2 separate regions of the Homo sapiens genome follow, and region 2 is linked to region 1. The links are contacts of gene promoters, found by promoter capture Hi-C in human tissues and cell types (Jung and others, 2019). All regions are on one chromosome and are shown on one strand. The core of a region is centred on a gene start or on the middle of the fragment in contact, and the rest is flanking DNA. Distances in the headings are between cores, read along the strand shown.

What was found. The method cuts DNA at HindIII sites, captures the fragments that hold promoters and counts their contacts. A contact is called where the count stands out against the background at its distance.
Region 2: a fragment that was not itself captured here is called in contact with the fragment with the promoter of SLA2 in region 1 in 3 of the 25 tissues and cell types used here (IMR-90 fibroblasts, dorsolateral prefrontal cortex and heart left ventricle).

What each region holds. Positions count from the first base shown.
Region 1 is chr20:36,643,327-36,648,287 of GRCh38, reverse strand. It overlaps SLA2 (Src like adaptor 2), which reads left to right and starts at 2,092. Exons shown (of 8, transcript NM_032214.4): 1 at 2,092-2,451. RefSeq lists an enhancer at 4,789-4,961. The HindIII fragment of the contact is 4,817 bases long and covers 650-4,961 here.
Region 2 is chr20:36,711,271-36,716,598 of GRCh38, reverse strand. All of the region lies in intron 2 of NDRG3 (NDRG family member 3), which reads left to right. Among named protein-coding and RNA genes, the nearest start is that of NDRG3, 32 kb to the left of the region's middle. The HindIII fragment of the contact is 6,918 bases long and covers 1-5,245 here.

The DNA of each region.
Region 1 (4,961 bases), core at 843-3,342:
AGGCAGAGGATGCGGTGAGCCTAAATTGTGCCACTCCACTCCAGTCTGGACAACAGAGCAAGAATCTGTCTAAAAATAATAATAATAATACATAGAGCAAGGTCTGGAGGGGTCCCAGGGAGTTGGGGTGTGCCACCCTTCTGGTGTGTTGGATGTGTTCACCAACCTGGAAACTCTCTGAACCTCGTACTTTAGGGATTTTTATGGAAGCTTCATCACATAAGCATTATCAATTATTAACTCAATCTCGAGCTCCTCTCCCCACTCCAGAGGATGAGGTGGGACTGAAAGCCCCAAGCTCATAATGATGGCTTTGTCTTTCTAGTGACCAGTCCCCATCCAGGAGCCCACCAAGTGTTGCCTCATTAGAACAGAAAACACTTCTGTCACCGAGGAAATTAGAAGGGTTTTAGCAGCTCTGGCCAGGAGCCAGGGAGGAACACCAGTGCATATTTCTTAGTGGATAGACCTAGGATTTTAAATTTTGTAATTCTTAGGTGCCTCCCTAAGTAGAAAAGGAGAGTTATGCCGTGGGATTCTTTTAAGAAGAGACCAGAGATTCCCTACTTCCTGCCCCATTCATGAACTGCACCTTGAGGCTTGTTTTGAAGATGTGCGTATCATAAGAAGACGGGCATTACAGTTGTATGGCAGCAGGAGTGGGAAGGTGGGCTCAAGCTCAAGTCCCTCCCTGCCAAGGCCCACATCCCTGAGTGGCTGTCACCCATTCTAACGTCCTGATTAGAACTCTCTTGCAGAAGTGTGCCTCCACTCTGGCTCCTTCAGCTCTGTGTGCCAAGTGCCTACAAGGATAAAAATCAAACCAGCCTTCCCTAGGATCAAAGGAGAACCTGAGCAGGAGTGCTGTAGCTGGCAAGGCCCCAGAAAGGGCTGCATGGGCTGAGCTGGAGTCAGGAATCATTTCAGTGCAGTGGGCCCTTTGTCTCCAAGAGTACTAATCCCCCTAATGGGGAAGCAGCGAGAGGGTGTGGTTAAATCTTAATGAAGAGTGGGACTGAAGGTAACACACTGATCAAAGACAATTCAGCCAGAGTCAGATTCTTTATCCTAGACCAGTGATTCTCAAGCTTGGGCATGGACTGTGGCTCATGCTTGTAATCCCAACACTTAGGGAGGTGGAAGTGGGAGGAACAATTGAGGCCAGGAGTTTGAGATTAGATGGAGCAGCACAGTGAAACCTCATCTGTACAAAAAAAATTTAAAATTAGCCAGGAGTGCTGGTGCACACCTGTAGTCCTAGCTACTCAAGGCTGAGAAGGGAGGATTACTTGAGCCTGGGTCAAGGCTGCACTAAGCTATGATTGTGCCACTGCACTCTATCCTGGGTGACAAAGCAAGACCCTGTAAAAAAAAAAAAAAAAAAAAAAAAAAAAAAATCAAGCCTGGGCATGCATCGGAATCACCTGGAGGCATGAAAACAGATTGCTGGGCCTACCTCCAGAGTATGATTCCATAGATCTGGGATGCGGCCTGAGAATTTGCATGTCTAACAAATTCCCGCTGAGGCTGCTGGTCTAGGGACCATACTTGGAGACCACTGTCCAGATACTGCTGCTATTCAAAGTGTGGTCCCCAGACTGGCAACATGGGGGTCACCTGGGAGCGTATTAGAAATGCAAAATACTGAACTCTGCCCCAGACCTTCTGAATCAGAGCCTGCAGTGCAACAAGATCCCCAGGTGATTCCTATACACATTAAAGGCTGAGAAGGCAGTGCTTCCCACACTCGTCAGTCAAGGGAATCTCCTGCAGGGTTTAAAATTTAGATTCCTGGGCTCCCTATCTGGAGACTTGGATTTAGAAAGTTTGGGAGATCCCAGAAATTGCTACAATTAAGTCCCGCTGAGTGATTATTATGGTCAGGCCAGCATGGGAACTCCGGCTCATTTTCCTCAGTCCTGTGTTCCTTGGACAAGACTAAGCCACAAAGCCAGAGAAAAACCTTTTGCTCCACGATCATGACAAGGCAGCAGCTGCTCCCCTAGAAACAGGAACTTGGGGAAGGTGGCTCCTCGACGGTCTGTGATGCCGTCAGAGGAAACGGGTGGTTGTGAGAACCACAGAGTCTGCAGTCGGAGCTAGAGCTCCAAGGACCCCACGCCTGTGTCTCTGTGACAGAGCTCAAAGGGCCCTGGGCCTTCCCTCCCTGGCTCGGCTGTGCTTGGGAGGGTTCCCCAGTCCAGAATCCCTAAGGAGCATGGGGCAGCTGATCCATCCCTGGTGTACAAACTGCTGACTGCAGACAGATGCTGAGCTACCCAAACCAACACCTAGCCTCTCCCTGAAGATCCTCCCAGGCTGAGAGAGTTCTGGGTGTCCTAGGACCAAGGACACTGGCAGACTTCCAGAAGGGCCCCCAAAGCCCTAACCTGTCCAGCCAGAGCATGCGTCTCAGCAGAGCTGTCTTCCCAAGCCTTTGATGACAAACCAGTAAGTATGCTTGCTTTTGTTCTTGGATGGCCTGGAGACAGGTGAGGAAGAATGGTCTCCCCTGCCCCGACTGGGACTGGGCTTTATTTGCTGTTGGGAAAAAAACAAGCTCAAGGAGAAGGGGGAGTGGTTCTACTGAGGCTGTAAAGAGGGGTGGTTTCTGGGGGTCCCAGAAGAACCAAGACTCACCTGCTCCACCTTTGACCTCCTCTTGGAGCTTACGCTCTTCCGTGCAGCTTGTCTTCACGCCCGTCCTAGTCCCATCTCAGGTGCGCACTTGCTGTGTGACTTTGGGCCCCTCTCTGCGCTGCAGTCAGACTCCAAAGTCAGGAACGTGAGGGCTACCATCTCTCAAGACATTTCAGCTGTAGAGCCTACAGTGCACTCTCACTCTCAAAGGGGTGATATTTCTCAATTGGAAGAGAGGGAGAGGTCTCCCTTTAACTCAATCCAAATTCATTTTTTTTTTTGAGTTGGGGTCTCATTCTGTTACCCAGGCTGGAGTGCAGCGGCGTAATTATGACTAACTATAGACTTGAACCACTGGGCTCAAGTGATCCTCCTGCCTTAGCCTCCCAAGTAGCTGAGACTACAGGCATGTACCACCATGCCCAGCTAATTCGTTATATTTTTGTAGAGATGGCAGGCGGTGGTGGGGGTGGGGGTGGGGGTTCTCACTATGTTGCCCAGGCTGGTCTCGAACTCCTGGCCTCAAGCAATCCTCCTGTCTCAGCCTCCTAAATTGCTGGGATTACAGGCATGAGCCACTGTGCCTGGCCAAATTCATCACTCTTACCCCCACTGCTGAAAAATGATCTTCAGAAGCACAAAATACACATGATGGCAGGCCCAGTCCTGCACGAATGGGCTACATGAACAGAATCACATGGTTGTCCTCTCAGGGACTTGGTCACTGTATCTGAAATGGGACCCAAGTGAGATACTGAAAAAAAAAAAAAAAAAAAAAACACAATATTCTGGGCAGCGTGCTCATCTCGGCTGCCGTTGACTAACTTTTTCCTTTCACCCGATGCCTCATGTCCTCCGGAAAGTGCCTGGCACATAGTAAGTTTTTCAAAAATTTGTAGAGTTAATGATTTGATGCTGTCTTACAAAATGTGCGGCTAATACTCTGCCTCCTCCTAGGCTGGCCCATTGTATGGTCTTTATTTTGCCCCCAGGGGCTTATTGGCCTTGACCTGACCAAGTCCTTGACCAGGTGAAGGGAGCTGCAGAGACTTTGGGGAGGCTTTCAGCCTGAGTACAGCTCCCCTGTCTCCATCTGCCTTTGGGCCCAGCCCCCAGCTCCACCTGCGGCAGGAAGGAGTCTCTCAGTTTATTGCAGGTGGTAACTGTGGTCTTCCTGAAGGAGGGGAAAGGAAACTAAGCCTTACTGAGCACCCACTCTGTGCCAGACTCCTGCAACTCTCCCCACAGCCCCGTGGCGCCTGTAGTGCACCTTGTTCACAGATGAGACGGGGGAAGCTTGCATGCTTTGCCTGAGGCCACACAGCTCCAGCCAGGTTCAAGTGGGCACTCATGCTACCCAAGCCAGAGGTTCTCTCCCTGGGGTTTCCTGGTCTTGGGTTTGTAAAAATCCTCCCCAGGAGGATCGCTTAAGCCCAGGAGTTCAAGACCAGCCTGGGCAACACAGCAAGACCCCAATAATGTAAAACAAAAACAAAAAACCTCCTCAAGAACAGCAGCACCATTTCAGTGTACCCAGGCTGCAGGATCCTAAAAGGCTGAGCAGGAAGTGGCTGTCAGGACCCATTTCCATGCCATATGCCCATTCTGTGTTCAAGAGCTCCCTTCCAGATGAATGCCGAACTCCCCATACGGAGGGAGCAGCAAGCAGGTATTAGGTTTTTTGGGGCGGGAGGGGGGTACAGAGTCTCGCTCTGTCGCCCAGGCTGCAGTGCAGTGGCACAATCTCGGCTCACTGCAGCCCCTGCCTCCCAGGTTCAAGTGATTCTTTTGCCTCGGTCTCCCGAGTAGCTGGGATTACAGGTACCCACCACCACACCCGGCTCATTTTTGTATTTTTAGTAAAGACAGGGTTTCACCATGTTGGCCAGGCTGGTCTCAAACTCCTGACCTCATGTGATCTGCCCACCTCGGCCTCCCAAAGTGCTGGGATTACAGGCATGAGCCACCGCGCCCGGCCCAGGTATTGTTATTCCCATGTCAACAACATGAGACTGAAGAACAGAGAGGGCTGTTCCATGCTCTAAGGTAGGATCTTTACTCCCCAGACAGGACTGGTCCAGGACGCCACAGAAATCACTCCATGATATTGATGGACGCCCGTCCTCATCCAGGCAGTGTGGGGTTCAAAGGCAAGGAATGAGCCCACTCTGTCACCACCCCATTCAGTGATCTCCTCCAGAGTAAGGTGCATGGGTTCCCCTCCAGGGACCACCAGTCCTTGGCAGGTGCCTGACACAGAGCAGAAGCTCCATGAATATCAGCTGAACTGGGCCAATTGTGTAACTGTGCCTTGTCCCTAC
Region 2 (5,328 bases), core at 537-3,036, 69 kb before region 1:
AAAGTTATATACTTTGTTTTGGTTGTTACAGTAGAAAGTGAGGTAAATCTTTTTTTTTTTTTTTTTGAGATGGAGTCTCGCTCTGTTGCCCAGGCTGGAGTGCAGTGGCATGATCTCGGCTCACTGCAACCTCTGCCTCCCAGGTTCAAGTGATTCTTCTGCCTCAGCCTCCCAAGTAGCTGGGATTATAGGTACCTGCCACCATGTTCAGCTAGTTTTTGTATTTTTAGTAGAGATGGGGTTTTGCCATGTTGGCCAGGCTGGTCTTGAACTCCTGACTTCAAGTGATCCGTCCGCCTCGGCCTCCCAAAGTGCTGGGATTACAGGCATGAGCCACCGCACCCACCTGAAAGTGAGGTAAATCTTACTGCAGTTTAAGTTTTCCTTTTCTACTAATCACAACATGTAAGCAGAGGAGGGAGGAGGGTGTTAGAACTAGAGGAGGGAGAACCCTGGGAACAACATTTTGTAACCTCCAGGACAACAGAGACAGCCAAAGCGTTTATGCCAAGGGCTTGCTCTGTTGCCCAGGCTGGAGTCCAGTGGCACAATCATGGCTTATTGCAGCCTCCTGGGCTCAAGTGATTCTCCTGCCTCAGCCTCCTGAGTAGCTCTTGCCACCATGCCTGGCTACGTTTTGTATTTTTTTAGAGACGGAGCTTTGCCATGTTGAAACTCTGGGGCTCAAGCCATCCACCCATCTCGGCCTCCCAAAGTGCTGGGATTACAGGCGTGAGCCACTGTGCCTGGCCCCAGGATCTTTTTTTTATTTGAGACAGGGTCTCTGTCATCCAGGTTAGAGTACAGTGGCATGGCCATGGCTTGCTGCAGTCTCTACCACCTGGGTTCAAGCAATTCCCACCTACTTGGGAGGCTACCTTAGCCTCCCAAGTAGTTGGGACCACAGGTGTGCCCACCATGCCTGGCCAATTTTTAAGTTATTTGTAGAGAAGAGGTCTCACTTTGTTGCCCACGCTGATCTCAAACTCCTGAGCTCAAGCAATCCTCCTGCCTCGGCCTCCCAAAGTGCTGGTATTATAGGCATGAGCTACCGCACCCAGCTCCAAGGTTGTTTAAAAAAAAAAAAAACCTAGGGGGAGAGAGAGAAAAGAAGAAACAGCTGTAATTAAAAATAGATTTATTGACATTTTCATCAAAGAATATTCATGAAGTGCTACATCTAGTGTGGACTAGAGTGGGTGTCCCTTAATGTACTAAGACATGATGGTTACATCTGTTGTCAGAAGTGCTCTAGACGGGACTGCAGCAAGAAATGGGTTCCGAAGCAGGTAGTGATGCCACCGTTACAGACCAGATGACCCTCAACCAGTTACAGGAGGCAAGAGATCCACATCTTAGCCACACCTTAGCAGAGTGCCCATGGGATTTTTAGAGTGGAAATTGTACTTTTTCAGCAATCTGCAGAGGATTATCTGATTGTAGATAGTTTTATCCAAGTATCCAACCTCTTTATAAATTTCTTTATGAAGTCTGTTTCTTAGTATATTTTGAAGGTAATGATTGCTATAGATACTTAAATATAATATATATATATATATATATATATATATATATATATATATATATATATACACACACACACACACACACACACAGATATAGGATTTTCATTCTTATCCCTGGATTATCAGTTTGAACAGATTTCTACTTGAAAACAATTTGCTGGGCCTGGCGCGGTGGCTCATGCCTGTAATCCCAGCACTTTGGGAAGCCAAGGCAGGCGGATCACCTGAGGTCGGGAGTTCGAGACCAGCCTTACCAACATGGAGAAACTCCGTCTCTACTAAAAATAAAAAATTAGCCGGGCGTGGTGGCACGTGCCTGTAGTCCCAGCTACTTGGGAGGCTGAGGCAGGAGAATGGCGTGAACCTGGGAGGTGGAGCTTACAATAAGCCGAGATTGCACCACTGCACTCCAGCCTGGGCGACAGAGCAAGACTCCGTCTCAAAAAAACAAACAAACAAAAAAAAACAAAATTAGCCAGGCATGATGGCACATGCCACAGCTACTCTGGAGGCTGAGGCAGGAGAATGGCTTGAACCCAGGAGGCGGAGGTTGCTCTGAGTCGAGATCGCGCTATTGCACTCCAGCCTGGGCAACAAGAGCGAAACTCTGTCTAAAAAAAAAAAAAAAAGAAGAAAATGATTTGCTGAAGATTTTTTTTTTTTTTTTTGAGTTGGAGTCTTGCTCTGTTGCCCAGGCTGGAGTGCAATGATGTGGTCTCGGCTCACTGCAACCTCTGCCTCCCCAGTTCAAGCAATTCTCCTGCCTCAGCCTCCCGAGTAGCTGGGATTATAGGTGCCCACCACCACGCCCTGCTAATTTTTGTATTTTTAGTAGAGATGGGGTTTCACCATCTTGGCCAGGCTGGTCTCTTGGCAGGCTGGTCTCGAACTCCTGATCTCATGATCCACCTGCCTCAGCCTCTCAGAGTGCTGGGATTACAGGCATGAGCCACCGCGCACGGCCCTGCTGATGATTTTAATACACCGATTTATTATACTAGTTGATTATATGAATCTTTATTATTAAAGAAAAACTGAGTATTTTCTGAGCATATGTAACTCTTCTTGCTTGTACAATCCCCCATCTTTGTTTCCACTTTTTGTAGGGAAGGATTATCTTTTTTGTGTATGGCTTTTTAATACAAAGTCATATTTTATTCTCTTTAACAGTTTTTTATCAGCTTATTTCTAAAAGCTTTTACTATTGCACCAACTCATTTTCTCCACTTTAGTCCCTAGCATGTCAATTACGTGTAACCTTTCCTCTTTGGTATTCGTTTCTTCCTCAAATCAAGTATCTCTATTTTGAGAGGTTCATAACCTCTACAAAATGATGTTTATTGCACTCATTAAGTGTCAGGACCAGGAATAGAATGGTGAATCAGAAATGGACCTTTCCTTTAAATTCACAGAACAGGTAAATTCACCCAAAATCTCTTTCTATTGATAGTTGGTCTAAGGTCTTATCTATCTCATCTTTCAACTATCTCATCTTTCTTTACATTATGTCTGTTGCTTCTGTCTTTTGAAACTATTGATGCCTTTTGACCAGATCTCATGTTAGGAAACTACATCTCTCTTCTCCCTAGCAATGACTTGTTTTTGAAACATTTCTGCTTTTCACACCCCCCTTTTTTTTCATAATTCACTTTAATCATTGACCCGTTCCTAGTTTCTTTTTGCTTATTCTCTAAGCTTGTAACTGTGAGGCTTGCTTGCTTTAATTTACCTTCTTGGGTTGCTTTATTTACCTTTTACATATGGCCACTAAGCTCCATCAGAAAACATTCCTCTTAGCTGGCTTCTACTTTGACTGCAACTTTCAGTAATAATTAATGGCTTTCCTTGATTTTTTTCCTCTTCAAATTATTCTGTTGTTTTAATTTTTTCCTTGAATCCCTTTCTGCTGCTTAAGTCTGCTTAGTGTAAGAATTTCTCTGAATATGGAATTAATGGCATCTTCAAAATGGACAGAAAAAAAGAAAGCACCCATAGCCTGAAATTTCTAGAAGTTTTGTTAGAGTGGAACCATATACTGTGAACATCAGAGACAAACAAACTGAGGCAGGAGGATTGCTTGAGCCCAGAGGTCAAGGCTGCACTGAGCTATGATCATGCCACTGCAACTCCAGCCTGGGTGACAAAGCAAGACTCTGTCTCAGAAGGAAAAAGAAACAGGGCAGGTGCAGTGGCTCACGCCTGTAATCTCAACACTTTGGGAGGCCAAGGTGGGCAGATTGCTTGAGCCCAGAAGTTGGAGACCACCCTGGGCAACATGGTGAAACCCTGTCCCTATTAAAACTACAAAAATGAGCCAGTTATGGTGGCGTGTGCCTGTAATCCCAGCTACTCTGGAGGCTGTGGCAGGAGAATCGATGGAACTTGGCAGGCGGAGGTTGCAGTGAATGGAGATTATGCCGCTGCACTCCAGCCTGGGCAGCAGATCAAGACTCCGTCTCAAAAAAAAAAAAAAAAAAAAAAAAAATATATATATATATATATATATATATATAGCCGGGCATGGTGGCACATGCCAGTAGTCCCAGCTACTCAAGTGGCTGAAGCAGGAGGATCGTTTGAGCCTGGGAGGTCAATGCTGCAGTGAGTTGTGATCATGCGACTGCATTCCAGGCTGGCTGACAGAGCGAGACCCTATCTCAGGAAAAAAAAAAAAAAAAAGAAAAAGAAAAAGAAACAAGTCTCTAGGGAAGGGCCCCAGAAGGTACTCAGCCTTTTAGAATGCCCCCAATGAGCAGTACTGAACTTTTAATGAGTACAGAGAATAAATAATATGGCCTCAGTTAATCACAGTTGAGTGAAGGACCAGCTAATGATCCCCATTCAGAAACTCTGGAGCCAGTTACTGTCAAATAGACCCAGTCATTCCCATTTTCCAGGGTGATTACTCATGAAGCTAGAAGCCATTCTTCAAGAGGGTCTGGGATCGCTCTCAAAAAAAAACAACAACAAAAAAAACAAAAAAACAACCAGGTGCGGTGGCTCACACCTGTAATCCCCTGTAATCCCAGCACTTTGGAGACCGAGGTGGGCAGATCACGAGGTCAGGAGATCGAGACCATCCTGGCTAACATGGTGAAACCCCGTCTCTACTAAAAATACAAAAAATTAGCCGGGCGCAGTGGCGGGTGCCTATAGTCCCAGCTGCTTGGGAGGCTGAGGCAGGAGAATGGCGTGAACCCAGGAGGCGGAGCTTGCAGTGAGCCAAGATCGTGCCACTGCAACTGCAGCCTGGGCGACAAAGCGAGACTCCGTCTCAAAAAAACAGCCAGGAAAACAAGTGCTAAATAGTCTTCACTCAGTTATTGGTACCTTTTATCTGGGAGTATAGCTAGGAACATGGGATTGAGAACACAGAGTTGTTTTTTGCTCGGTACTCAACAAATAAGACATAGCTTGAGGTTCTTGAGGGCATTGGCTTTCTGCTTTTGGCATGCCCCTTTGTGCTCATGTCAGGGACCGAGGGCTTTACAGAATGCCTCATGGTCATGGTCACATCATTGTAAGAAGGGAGAATTCATGGATACAATGACAGCTGCTTCCCAAAGAGCTCGTCAGAATTTGTGGCTCTATATTCTATGAGATTTTAATTCAATCTAGAGTGATTTTTTCTAATCTTAAAATAATCCCTAAAGGAACCTTTGGGAATTCTGTTAGATTGAAGCCCTAATATGGTCTGTTTAGGCATCATTATAAATCATTCCTTAAAAGGTTAGGTCAATCTTTACATTTTTGTATTTATTTATTTATTTATTTATTATTATTATTTTTTTTTTGAGACGGA